3 separate regions of the Homo sapiens genome follow, and regions 2 and 3 are each linked to region 1. The links are contacts of gene promoters, found by promoter capture Hi-C in blood cells and fetal thymus (Javierre and others, 2016). All regions are on one chromosome and are shown on one strand. Each heading gives the region's core, a stretch centred on a gene start or on the middle of the fragment in contact. The rest is flanking DNA. Distances are from core to core; before and after follow the strand shown. Region 1 holds the start of FRMD3-AS1 (FRMD3 antisense RNA 1). Region 2 has its middle 26 kb from the start of IDNK. Region 3 has its middle 12 kb from the start of FRMD3.

Evidence for each region. Contacts are between HindIII fragments. The CHiCAGO score rates a contact against its expected background, and 5 or more counts as called.
Region 2: a fragment that was not itself captured here is called in contact with the fragment with the promoter of FRMD3-AS1 in region 1 in 1 of 17 cell types (monocytes); the score reaches 5.1 in monocytes.
Region 3: a contact is called between a fragment that was not itself captured here and the fragment with the promoter of FRMD3-AS1 in region 1, in 1 of 17 cell types (endothelial precursors). The highest score is 5.1, in endothelial precursors.

Annotation. Positions count from the first base shown.
Region 1 is chr9:83,216,515-83,221,165 of GRCh38, reverse strand. FRMD3-AS1 (FRMD3 antisense RNA 1) reads right to left here and starts at 1,821. Exons shown (of 3, transcript NR_184120.1): 1 at 1,789-1,821. It also overlaps a transcript of RASEF not described here. The HindIII fragment of the contact is 11,674 bases long and covers 1-4,651 here.
Region 2 is chr9:83,646,907-83,651,557 of GRCh38, reverse strand. No RefSeq gene overlaps it. Among named protein-coding and RNA genes, the nearest start is that of IDNK, 26 kb to the right of the region's middle. The HindIII fragment of the contact is 6,539 bases long and covers 1-4,651 here.
Region 3 is chr9:83,548,380-83,553,030 of GRCh38, reverse strand. It overlaps a transcript of FRMD3 not described here. Among named protein-coding and RNA genes, the nearest start is that of FRMD3, 12 kb to the right of the region's middle. The HindIII fragment of the contact is 2,633 bases long and covers 1,425-4,057 here.

The DNA of each region.
Region 1 (4,651 bases), core at 572-3,071:
GCTGACAGAATGGACTCTTTGTGGTAATAAGATACCAAATTATAAACAAGACCTAAGGTGGTAGTAGGCAAGGGTTAAGTCCTACAGCCCCTACAGTTAAAGAATAAACTATTTTCTAACTGCCTCAAGGTTTTTCTTTTTCTCTATCAGCAAAACAAGCACTGGTCTCCAGATAAGCAATATTGAAACAATTGCAGCTCACTAACCACCAAACACTGACTAACTGACCTCGTGCTCCACAAGGCATAACTACAGCTCTGACTGGACAAGAGACTGATTTCAGTAACTTTCTTCTAAGAGACCACAGACCGGTTCTGGCTGATTCATAGAGGCTGAGCGTTGATTACTTTCATGTCCCTGCTTCACCTTTTAATGTGTGTGGCCTAAATTTGACTGTATCTTAATGTTGTCTCCACCCCAAAGTGAACATGTGTTGTATGTTACATACATGTTCATTCTGTGCATATGTATTGACTCATAAATATTCATAAGATTCTCCTATAACCTACTGAATATGTATGTATAGCTAATTTCCTTGGGCATAAATCTCAACCTCTCCCTTTTATCCTCTGAAGTGCCTGCTATTGGTCTCTGCCAGAGGCTAGCTTCTACCTGTCATGATGGCCACCCTGCAAGCTGCAACTCGTTATAAGAAATAAAGTCTCCTCTCCAAATTTAAGATCTCATGATTTTAAGCTGACAATGCCTATACATGAAATAACAGAAGTCAGACCTATAAACAGGTTATCAAAATAAGGTACAGTAAATGCATGAGGTACTAGAGACCCATAGATTATCCCACTCTATTGAGCTGAGCGTCCCGTAAACCTCTAAGACAGGCTATGCAGATACGACAGGTCCTGATTTTATAGTCATTGAAGCTATGGCGATCCCCATTAGCGCAGAAGCGAGTCCTCTCTCACCACCACGCTGCCTCCTGAAGGTGGTCAGGTGAGGCTCATAGTTACTCAGTGTGCAGCCAAGGCTAACGCTTGGCTCCATCAATCCTGAAGTCCCACCTGATTGCCCAATGAAAGATAAAGCTCGGGGGGGCTGAGAAATAATACACGTGAACTGAAGGGCAGTGTAATGTTCCCCTCAAGGGGAACATTATTGCTTTACAAGCGTGGATTCTTTGTTCTGAACCCTAACTGTAAACTAGGAATTGGGGCTGAGAGCTTCTTCCATTTACAGCCCTAGGCTCTGCTCTGCATCCAAGCTCCGCTTCCTAGAAGTGCTGCTTATATTATTAACCAGGCTGCAGCCGGAATTAGCCAGAAACCACACTGTCGGCTCTGCTTTGCGGAAGGAATAGGAGCGAAGGACGAGGCTGCCCCCCAGTGGGAAACCCACAAGAAGCAGCGACGCTTCCAATCAGCTCACAACTTTCAGTATTGCAAGGAGAGGAATGGGCTCCGCATTTCCAGCTCCAAGCACTCCATTTCAGAGCCGCTGGGGAGGATTTTGGGGTGCAAATTCTTTTACCATTACGGGGTAGTGGTATGGCGTTGAGAAATAAGAATAGGCGAACCTCGTATCTACCAATCTCCCAACTCTATAAACGGCCCCTGGTTAAATCCAGATTCCGGATCCTGGCTGGGAGATTTTGATTTAGCAGGGCAGGAGTGGGAAACTAGGGAGGGTTTGGGTTTTAAATCAGCGTAATTCTGATCATCTGGCAAATTTGAATATTCTGCGCTGGGAGGCGACTTTCTGCTTCACTTTCCCAGAACCCGGGCAGGGGTCAAGCCCTTGCGAGTCAAGGGAACCCAGGAGTTGCTCTCTTACCTTTGTATTCCCGCAGCCTCCAACTGCAACTCCGGCGTCGCCCGGGCAGCCCGACCCAGCCAACCTGCCCAGGATCCGCCCATCCGCCGCGATTTCCATGGCGACCGATGGCGCCGCCTTCCGCAGCCTTAGGGCGGGGTAAGCGGGGGACCTAACTCTCTGTCCAGGCACTCAGTGCCCGACCTGCAAGTGGGGACGGAATTCTCGTCCAGGACAGTCAGGCTAAGAAGTAACTTTTATTATTATTATTATTTATTACTTTGAGTACTTCTTGCGCCCATTATTAAAAATTAAGTGTTTCTTTTTTGTTTTTGTTTGGTTCGGTGGGTAGAATATATGTGACATGTTTTTCTAGGATTTTCTTCTTAACATTTTATCTTCAGATTCAAATGCTTTGGACAGACTCACCGACTGCCCGGCTGAGAGAATCTGTGAGGTCTACCTGCCTAGCAATTTGCCTTTGCACGGTCCTCCTGTGAGGAGTGAGGACACACAGGTATGTGGCTTCTGTAAATGTCCACGCTGGGATAGTTCCCAGACCGTCGACTTTCTGTCCCTTTCTTGACTGTCCAGTCTCACCTTTCTCTCAAACACTGCTGCTTCAGCCGAATCCAGATGTGGGAGGCCAGGTTCTCAGGTGGCCTGGTGGGAATGCAAGGGCGGTGCTCTCAGAAACATCTGGGGGCGAGCTTGCCACTCAGAAGCAGGGAAAACTGTTTCAGCTTTCTTTATGAGAGAGACACACCTGGCTGGAGGTGCTGGTTTTTCTGCTTGACAACCCTGAGGCCTGGGCATACCTCAGAGGTGCTTCAGGTAGCTTGGTCAGCATGTTTCAGCTAGTCAGGTCCTACCCCCACGGTCTGTGGGCTTTTAGTTTTGGAGTGGGTATGATGGAGTCCTAGGACCCTGGATGACCTCACATTCAGGGTGCTTTCTTGGGGGCAGTTTGGCTGTTCAAGCTGGCTGGAGGCCAAATGGAAATCTAGACATCTCAGAAAACTGGTTGATATGCTGGGTTAGTGAGGATGAGGGAGGGGAGTGTTGTTTTACTTTTCACAGTAACCCAAAAGAGTTACCATCTATTACTATCTCCATTTTGTAGAAGAGGAAAGGGAGGCGCAGAGAATTTCAGAAACTCCCAGGATCTGGCTTCCACGTGCACACTTGGTACTTTGAATTTAGCTTAATTTTCTTTTTCCCTAATGGAGTGTTTATTCATGCTACCTTTCACCCACTCCTATTAATCTAGCCAAATTCATTCACTCATTTATCAGTAAGCTGTTTCATTTCTGCCCCCTCCCCTGTCACTGTAGTTCCACAGGACCAGAGACAACCACATGTGTTTTATGAAGTTATGTATCTGGCATGCAATTAGGCTCCAAGGAAAGTTTGATGAATGGATAAAGAGCAAAAGACAGTGAGTGCCTCAGAGTTTTTGCATTTATTGGATAAATTAGGAGGAGAAGGAAACATAAGTAACATTTATAATTACCTTTTCTGGACCAGACACCTAAGATATTTTATCCCCCTTTATTCCTGTACCGTGAGATAGGAAAAGTTTAAGACCCACTTCCCCACCCCCCAACTCTATTTTTATGAATGAGGAAACCGAATGTATTAGTCTGTTCTCACATTGCTGATAAAGACATACCTGAGACTGGGTCATTTATAAAGAAAAATAGGTTTAATGGACTCACAGTTCCACGTGGCTGGGGAGGCCTCACAATCATGGCGGAAGGCGAAGGAGGAGCAAAGGCATGTCTTACATGGCAGCAGGCAAGAGAGTGTGTGCAAGGGAACTGGCCTTTATAAAACCATGGTAGTGAGAAACTTATTCACTACCATGAGAACAGTATGCGGGAAACTGCCCCCATGATTCAATTACCTCCCTCTGGGTCCCTCCCATGACGTGGGGATTATGGGAGCTATAATTCAAAATGATATTTGGGTGGGGACAAAGCCAAACCATATCATTCTGCCCCTGGCTTCTCCCAAATCTCATGTCCTCACATTCTGAAACCAATCATGCCTTCCCAACAGTCTCCCAAAGTCTTAATTCATTTCAGCATTAACTCAAAAGTCCACAGTCCAAAGTCTCATCTGAGACAAGGCAAATCCCTTCCACCAATGAGCCTGTAAAATCACAAGCAAGTTAGTTAATTTCTAGATACAATGGGGGGTAAAAGCATCGGATAAATACCCCCTTTCCAAATGGGAGAAACTGGCCAAAACAAAGGGGCTATAGGCACCATGTAAGTCTGAAACCCAATAGGGAAGTCATTAAACTTTAAAGTTCCAAAATGATCTCCTTTGACTTTATGCCTCACATCCAGGTCATGCTGATGCAAGAAGTGGGCTCCCACAACCTTGGACAACTCTGCCTGTGTGGCTTTGTAGGGTACAGACTGCCTCCCAGCTGCTTTCACAGCTGGTGTTGAGTGTTTGCAGCATTTCCAGGTGCATGGTGTAAGCTGTTAGTGGATCTACCATTCTGGGGTGGGGAGAATGACTACAGTATTGAATTTCAGACTTACATGGGGCCTATAGCCCCTTTGTTTTGGCCAGTTTCTCCCATTTGGAAAGGGTATATTTATCCAATGCCTTTACCCCCATTGTATCTAGAAATTAACTAACTTGCTTGTGATTTTACAGGCCCTCTTCTCATAGCTCCACTAGGCAGTGCCCCAGTGGGGACTCTGTGTGGGGGCTTCAGTGGCTTCAACCCCACATTTCCCTTTCGCACTGCCCTAGCAGAGGTTCTCCATGAGGGCCCTGCTCCTCCAGCAAACTTCTGCGTGGACGTTCAGGTGTTTCCATACATCCTCTGAAATATAGGCAGTGGTTTCCAAACCTCGGTTCTTGG
Region 2 (4,651 bases), core at 1,544-4,043, 430 kb before region 1:
CTGGGACATTAGTCCACTAGTCCATGTCACTCAACCATCTGGCCTCGGGGTAGAGGTCAGCTACTACAACCTGGCCCTTGGGTGGGAAACCTACCAAATTCTAATTTTTTTGAGAAGGGAAGTTAAATCCTCCCATCTGAACTCCTGGTGATTCTAAAGATAATGTGTCCCAAACTTTCAAATTGAGGCCTAAAAGATCTTAGTGACAGTGACAATGATATCTGACAGTAAGAAAAATGTAGTTCCTGTCATCCAGATGCTGGCCTGGTGTTAAAAGCTAGGCCTTCATGTCCTGCTAAGCATACACAATTTCACAGGACACCTACATCAGAACAAGACTGCTTTTCAGCCGTGGTGGGTCAAGACAAAGGAACATTTCTTTAGTCATGTCAACACCGAAAAACATGAGCATTTTCCAAGATGCAAAAATGACCAGACATCTCCCTGTCCTTGTTAATGTGCTTCTTAACCAGTTATAGCTTTAGCTTCACTTCCTTCTTCACACTTTACTTTTTTTTTTTTTTTTTTTTGAGACGGAGTCTCTCTCTGTCACCAGGCTGGAGTGCAGTGGCACAATCTTGGCTCACTGCAACCTCCGCCTCCCAGGTTCAAGCAATTCTCCTGCCTCAGCCTCGCGAGCACCTGGGATTACAGGCACCCGTCACCATGCCCAGCTAATTTTTGTATTTTTAGTAGAGATGGGGTTTCAGCATGTTGGCCAGGATGGTCTCTATCTCTCAACCTTGTGATCCGCCCGCCTTGGCCTCCCAAAGTGCTGGGATTACAGGCGTGAACCACCGCACCCGGCATATTTTCTTAAGATAACCAGTTATCCCCCACTTTCTGACAGCATCCATTTAGAGAGCCCTGCTTCCTTGAACCCTACTCAGGACTACCTATCATGCAACCAAACCTTAAATCCTTTCTGACATCTTACTGAGTCTTTCGCGCAGTTTTTGGAGGTGTGTGTTCTTCCTTATACAGTGAGCAGTCAACCCAACTTGTTCAGGGCAGATTGTGTTCCTGTGTTATCTGGTCTGGAGCTGCATAGTTGTTGCCCTATTCAGATAGTGTGTGCATTTTTAATTTTGTCACAGTCTTCAGTCTCCCATATCCCACTAGTGTTGGTCACATTCTTTGGCCATCAAATTTGCAAGTCTTGCCATGGACTGTCATGGGTTGAGGGCATTTCCTTAGGCACCATCTGATTGGGTCCCTGATTAAGGTATGTGTTAGATACTCAACATCAGGTCTGGGGTCCTCCTAAGTGATGACCAGTGACTTCAACCTCCCACAAAGTGGACTTCAATTTGCACAGCATCCAGGGTAGGTTGCTGGGGGGAAACTCTGCTGGAGGGAATGATGATCATCAGGAAATCAGCACCAGCTCACATTTCACACATGAGATTCTGTGAAGCTGGGCTGAAACAACTCCACACACTGATGCTCAACACAGCTTATTGGCTGAATGCCTAATCAGATCCTAATTCCGTGGTAATTGCTGGCCCATGATACAGTTAATACCCTGATCTTGAATATATCTTTGATCAGATATATTCTGAACAGATGTGCTGTTCAGTGAAGGGATAATAAACTTGCATATTACAGTTTCAGAAAATTAAAATCCCTGGTGGATGGTGTCTTTGATTAAAGTCAGCTTGTTATAGTTTCCTCCTGGTTCTTGTACTCTGTCCACTGAAAAATAGTTTGCTTATCAGAGCAGACTCTAGAGAGGCACAGGATGTGAGCACTGGACCTTGGCAGCATCTAGTGACATCCCCTAGGGCTGCCTTATCTGTGTCACCCAGCTAGTTTACGCCAGTGCTATGCCTTGAGCCCATGTTTTTCTGGGTCCTGATTCCAGAGCCGGCTGCTCAGCTGATTGCTGGGTCATCCCATGCTTCAGGGACCTCATCCTAGGCTCTGCCTGATGTAACCTGCCCAAGGGCTGGGGAAAGGGGTGTGGAAAGACAGAGACTCGGTGGGGAGCTAAGCTATCAGAGCCAAAAGACTTCATTCTTACGAGGCAGGTGATACCCTCATTTTACAGGAGAGAAAAATGTTTAATCTGAAATTTTTCTGGTGGTGGGAATGGAGACTTGGGCGGGGGTGGGGTGGGGTGGGGGCGGGTGGAGAATCCTCCCAGAGGAGAAGGTGAATCTTTTATCTCCATCCATTTTGAGCCACTGCAAACCATCTGGCCCTTCTTCCCTGGGTTCTTTGTGCTTGCTGGGTCTCTCCCACCCCGGCCACCAGAGGGCAGTACCGGTCCACACCTCGGTCTCCCCGGGACCATGTTTGGGAAGATTAGAACAGTGCTCTCAACCCACCAGACTCCTTTTCAACACCTGCTTTTTAACAACTATTTTCCAATGCCCCTTTACTATCACAAAATGAGATTGCTAACAAAACGTACCTAAGCAATTAATAAACATAATGCCTTAGCTCTAATGTAAAGGACACATGAAAGTACGAATAAGGGCCGGGCCTGGTGGCTCACGCTTGTAATCCCAGCACTTTGGGAGGCCGAGGCGGGCGGATCACGAGGTCAGGAGATCGAGACCACGGTGAAACCCCGTCTCTACTAAAAATACAAAAAATTAGCCGGGCATGGTGGCGGGCGCCTGTAGTCCCAGCTACTCGGAGAGGCTGAGGCAGGAGAATGGCGTGAACCTGGGAGGCGGAGCTTGCAGTGAGCCGAGATCGAGCCACTGCACTCCAGCCTGGGTGACAGAGCGAGACTCTGTCTCAAAAAAAAAAAAAAAGTACGAATAAACTTTCAGTGTGTACTGCTTGAGCACGACTACACTAAATGAAAACGATGGAGTCATTATGTGCTTGTGCCCATTGTGGGGTCACCCCTGAAAGAATGCAAGTGCATGTGGGTATGTTGTGTCGGTGACAAACACATCGTGATTTTCTAAAATGGTAAACAATTCTTGGTAAAGTTAAAAAATAAAATGGGGGCCAGGCACAATGGCTCACGCCTGTAATCCCAGCACTTTGGGAGGCTGAGGCGGGCAGATCACTTGAGGTCGGGAGTTTGAGACCAGCCTGGCCAACATGGGGAAACCCCATTGCTACTAAAAATACAAAAACTAGCCGGGCGTGGCGGCATGTACCAGCTACTCGGGAGGCTGAGGCAGGAGAATCGCTTGAACCTGGGAGGCGGAGGTTGCAGTGAGATGAGATTGGGCCACTGTACTCCAGCCTGGGCAACAGAGTGAGACTCTGTCTCAAAAAAGGAAAAAAGAAAACTCTCTTCAAACCCAGCACTCATTGTTAGGTGTCAAGTGCATGGGAGCTGGACGCAGACCTACTCTCCAGCTCATAGACTTTCTCCAAGTGTGATGGTGGGGAGGCGCCTGTGCTGGGGTTGCGGCCCTCCTCACAGTGGTGCATTAACTGCATTGATTTTTTTTTATTGAGATAAAAAATTGCCAGTATCAAAAAATGGCAGATAAAAATTTGTACACCATAAAATTCATTTGAAAGTGCGCATCAGTGGATTTAGTGTATTTTACTGTGCTATGCAAACATCACTACTATTGTGTAACTCCAGAATATGTCCATCACCCGCAAAAGAAACTGTGTACCTGTTAGCCAGTCCCAAGTCCCGCCTTCCCCATCCCAGGCAACCCATCCGTCTGTCTCTGTGGATTCTTCTATTCTGGACACCTTTTCCCTTATCTCTCTGTGTGTTCACTTCGTCTGAATGCCTCATTGACTATTCCCTGCTGTTACACCAAGAGAAACACTTGAGAGGCACACCCATCTCTTTGGTCCCTTCTACCTGCTACCTGCGATCCCTGCCAAATCAGCCGCTTTACACACTTGGGGGTTAGGTGCTCCCCAGCCTATCACCAGCCCAAAGCACCACTTTAGAGACTGCACTTCATCCCTGGCCTTTCGTGAGTTGTCCAGTGGGTCTTTGGCGAGAACTAATCCAGTCCTAAACTTCACCTTCGTCAAGATTCCCCCAGCTGCTGCCATCTAAGTGGGCTCAGCATGAGCAGGGGATCCAAATGGGGTCCTGGTTGTCAGACCTTACCCTGAGGCTCCCACCCCTGGCTGCTCACCAGAGTCAGTTGTGGAGCTTTCAGAGGTGAGACCAGGGCCCCTCATGACAGACACTGCTTCAGTGGGCTTGGAGGAAGCAGGAACAGGTCTGTGCTTTTCAGTTCCCCAGGTGACTCTTAACAAGCAGTCGAGGTTGAGAATCACTGCCTTCCTCAATTTTTCCTGTTTCCTGTCACCATGACAAAGGGGAGGCCAAAGGCTAGTCCAGCTGTGGAGCAGCTGTGGGGGTCTTTAGTCAAGGAATGTGCTTTGGCATTCATTATGGGGAGAGAGCTGGGACAGGGGCACGATCCAGCCAGAATGGATGCTTCTCAGCAGTTCTAAGTCCCCATGGTCAAGGGCCTTGTTGCGTCCTTTCTGTCCCAGGACTCTAGCTGGTGCCAGAGAATACGCGATGCCTTATCTTTCACCCCAACTGGAACCACCTGACAGCCAGGGCTTTGTGTCACAAGCCTCAAACCCTCCATGGTGCCTGTCACATACAGTCTGGACTCACTACTAAGTACAATGGATTGGTTGATTTCTCCCTCCACACGGCAGGGGGACTTACCCAGCTGGGATGTGTTAATTT
Region 3 (4,651 bases), core at 1,492-3,991, 330 kb before region 1:
CAGCATAGTGGCAGGATCAAATGCACACATGTCAATGCTAACCTTGAATGTAAATGGGTTAATTGTCTCTCTTAAAAACTAGAGTGACAAGCTGAATAATAATAATAATAAAAAAGCAAGATCCAATGGTATGCTGTCTTCAAGAGACCCATCTCACCCAAAATGACACTAATAGGCTCAAAATAAAGGGATGGAGGAAAATCTACGGAGCAAATGGAAAACAGAAAAAAGCAGAAGTTGCAATCCTTATTTCAGAAAAATAGTTTTCAAACTAATAAAGATAAAAAAGACAAAGAAAGGCATTACATAATGGCAAAAGGTTCAATACAACAAGAAGACCTAACTATCCTAAATATATGTGATATATATGTACCCAACACAGGAGCACCCAGATTCCTAAAGCAAGTTCATAGAAACCTACAAAGATACAGAGACTCCCGCAAAATAATAGTGGGAGACTTCAACACTCCACTGACAGTATTAGATTGAGGCAGAAAAGTAACAAAGATATTCAGGACCTAAAGTGAACATTGGACCAAATGGATCTGATAGACCTTTATAGAAGTCTTCACCCCAAAACAACAGAATGTATATTCTTCACATTGTCACATGACACATACTCTTAAATTGACCACATAATTGGACATAAAACAATCCTCAACAAATGTAAAAGGACCAAAATTATACCAAACACACTGTCAGACCACAGTACAATAAAAATAAAGATCAACACAATGAAAATTTCTCAAAACCATACAATTACGTGGAAATTAAACAACAAGCCCCTGAATGACTTTTGGGTAAATAATGAAATTAAGGCAGAAATCAAGAAGTTCTTTGAAGATAATGAGAACAAAGATATAACATACCAGAATCTGTGGGACACAGCTAAGGCAGTGTTAACAGTAAAATTCACAGCACTAAATGTCCAAAATCAAAAAATTAGAAAGATCTCAAAGTAATAACCTAACCTCACAACTGAAAGAATTGAAGAAGCAAGAACAAATCAATTTCAAAGCTAGCAGAAGACAAGAAATAACAAAAATCAGAGCTTAGCTGAAGGAAATTGAGACACGAAAAACCATTCAAAAGATCAATGAATCCAGGAGTTTTTTTTTTTGAAAAAAATCAATGAAATAGGCCACTAGCTAGACTAATTAAGAAGCGAAGAGAAGATCCAAATAAACACAATTAGAAATGACAAAGGGACTGTTACTACTGACCTCACAGAAATAAAAACAACCCTCAGAAACTACTATAAACACCTCTATGCACACAAACTAGAAAATCTAGAAGAGAAGGATAAATTCCTGGACACATACACTTTCCCAAGACTGAGCCAGGAAGAAATTGATTCCCTGAATAGACCAATAACAAGCTCCAAAATGGAATCAGTGATAATAGCCTATCAAGCAAAAAAAGCTTGGGACCTGATGGATTCACAGCTGAATTCTACTAGATGTACAAAGAAGAGGTGGTACCATTCCTACAGAAACTATTCCAAAAAATTGAGGAGGAGGGACTTCTCCCCAACTCATTCTGTGAGGCCAGTGTCATTTTGATATCAAAGCCTGGCAGAGACACAACAAAAAAAGAAAACTTCAGGCCAATATCCTTGGTGTACATTGATACAAAAATCCTCAAGAAAATACTTGCAAACCAAATCCAGCTGCACATCAAAAAGCTAATCCACCATGATCAAGTAGGCTTCATCCCCAGGATGCAAAGTTGGCTCAACATACAACAATCAATAAATGTGATTCATCACATAAACAGAACTAAAGCAAAAACCATATGATTATCTTAATAGATGCAGAAAAGGCTTTTGATAAAATTCAGCATTGCTTCATGTTAAAAACTCTCAATAAACTAAGTATTGAAAGAACATACCCCAGAAAAATAGATCCATCTATGACAAACACTCAGCCAACATTATATGGAATGGGCAAAAGCTGGAAGCATTCCCCTTGAAAACCAGCACAAGAGAAGGATGCCCTCTCTCACCACTTCTGTTCAACATAGTATTGGAAGTTCTAGCCAGAGCAATCAGGCAAGAGAAAGAAATAAAGGGTGTACAAATAGGAAGAGAGGAAGTCAAACTACCTCCTTTTGCAGACAATATGATTCTATATCTAGAAAACCCCATAGTCTTGTCCCAAAATCTCCTTCAGCTGACAAACAACTTCAGCAAAATTCCAGGATACAAAATCAATGTACAAAAATCACTAGCATTCCTATACACCACTAACAACCAAACTGAGAGCCAAATCAGAAAGACAATTACATTCACAATTCACACATGAATGCACACACACACACACACACACACACACACACACACACTACCTAGGACTACAGCTAACTAGGGAGGTGAAAGATCTCTACAATGAGAATTACAAAACACTGCTCGAAGTAATCAGAGAAGATGCAAACAAGTGGAAAAACATCCCATGTTTGTGGATAGGAAAAATCAACATCATTAAAATGGCTATACTGCCCAAAGCAATTTACAGATTTAATACTATTTCTATCAAACTACCAATGACATTCTTCACAGAACTAGAAAAATTACTTAAAAATTTATATGGAACCAAAAAAGAGCCCAAATAGCCAAGGCAATCCTAAGCAGAAAGAACAAAGGTGGGGGAATCATGTTACCTGATTTCAAAGTATACTACAAGTCTACAGTGACCAAAACAGCATAGTACAGGTATAAAAACAGGGACATAGACCAATGGAACAGAATAGAGAGCCCAGAAATAAGGCCACACATCTACGACCATCTGATCTTTGACAAAGCTGACAAAAACAATGGGGAAAAGACTTCCTATTCAATAAATGGTTCTGGGATAACTGGCTAGCCATATGCAGAAGATTGAAGCTGGACCCATTCCTTACATCATATCTAAACGTCAACTCAAGATAAAATAAAGACTTAAATGTAAAACCCAAAACTATAAAAATCCTGGAAGACAACCTAGGCAATACTATCCCGGACATAGGAATGGGCAAAGATTTAATGATGAAGATGCCAAAAGCAATTGCAACAAAAGTAAAAATTGACAAATGAGACCTAATTAAACTTTAGAGCTTCTGCACAGCAAAACAAACTATCAACAGAATAAACAGACAACTTACAGAATGGGAGAAAATATTTGCAAACTATGCATCTGACAAAGGTCTAATGTCCAGCATCTATAAGGAACTTAAACAAATTTACAAGAAAAAAAACCAACCCTATTAAAAAGTGGGCAAAAGACATGAACAGACACTTCTTGAAAGAAGACATATATGTGGCCAACAAGCATATGAAAAAAATGCTCGATATCACTGATCATTTGACAAATGCAAATCAAAAGCACAATGAGATAGCATCTCACACCAGTCAAAATGGCTATTATTAAAAAGTCAAAAAATAACTGATGCTGGCAAGGTTGCAAAGAAAAGGAAACTCTTATACGCTGTTGGTGGGAGTGTAAATTAGTTTAACCATTGTGAGAAGCAGTATAGTGATCCCTCAAAGAGCTAAAAGCTACCATTCAACACAGCAATCCTATTACTGGGTGTATACCCAGAGGAATATAAAGCATTCTACCATAAAGACACATGTACACAAATATTCGTGGCAGTACTGTTCACAATAGCAAGGACATGGAATCAACCTAAATGCCCATCAGTAACAAACTGGATAAACAAAATGTGGAACATACACACCATGGAATATTATGCAGTCATAAAAAAGAACAATATCATATATTTTACAAGAATATGGATGGAGTTGGAGGCTATCATCCTTTGCAAACTAATGCAGGAACAGAAAACCAAATACCACATTGTCTCACTTACAAGTGGGAGCTAAATGATAAGAACTTATGAACACAAAGAGGGAAACAAAAGACACTGGGGTCTTCTTGAGGGGGCAGGTTACAAGGAGGGAGAAGGGCAGAAAACACAACTCTTGGGTACTGGGTTTAGTACTTGGGCGATCTAGTAATATGTACAACAAACCCTCATGACACATGATTATCTATGTAACTTTCACATGTACCCTCAAGCTTAAAATAAAAAAAAGAAATCTGTAACAGATTGTGATCAATTAGTTGTAAATACTACTGTACTCAGACCAGACAATAGACTATTTTTTAGAGCACTTTTAGGTTTACAGAAAAATTGTGCAGAATGTACAAAGAGTTTCCAGATAGCCTACCCGTTTCCTCAGTTTCCCCTATTTTAACACCTTGCATTAGTGTGGTATGCTTGTTACAATGGATGAAAAAATATAGACACATTATTATTAACAGAAGCCTATAGTTTATATTAGGGTTCGCTATGTATGTTGCACAGTTCTATGGGTTTTGACAAATGCATAATGTTAGGTATTCACCACTGGAGTATTATACAGAATAATAGTTTCACTATTCTGAAAATGTACTCCACCTATTCATCTCACCCACTCTCCTGAACTCATGGTAATTACTAATCTTTTTACTGCTGTTTGCATAGTTTTGCCTTTCCTAGTATGTTATACAGTTGGAATAATACATTCTGTAGCCTTTTCATATTGGCTTCTTTCACTTAGTGATATGCATTTAATATTCTTCCATGTCTCTTCATGACTTGATAGCTCATTTCTTTTAATCATCGAGTATTA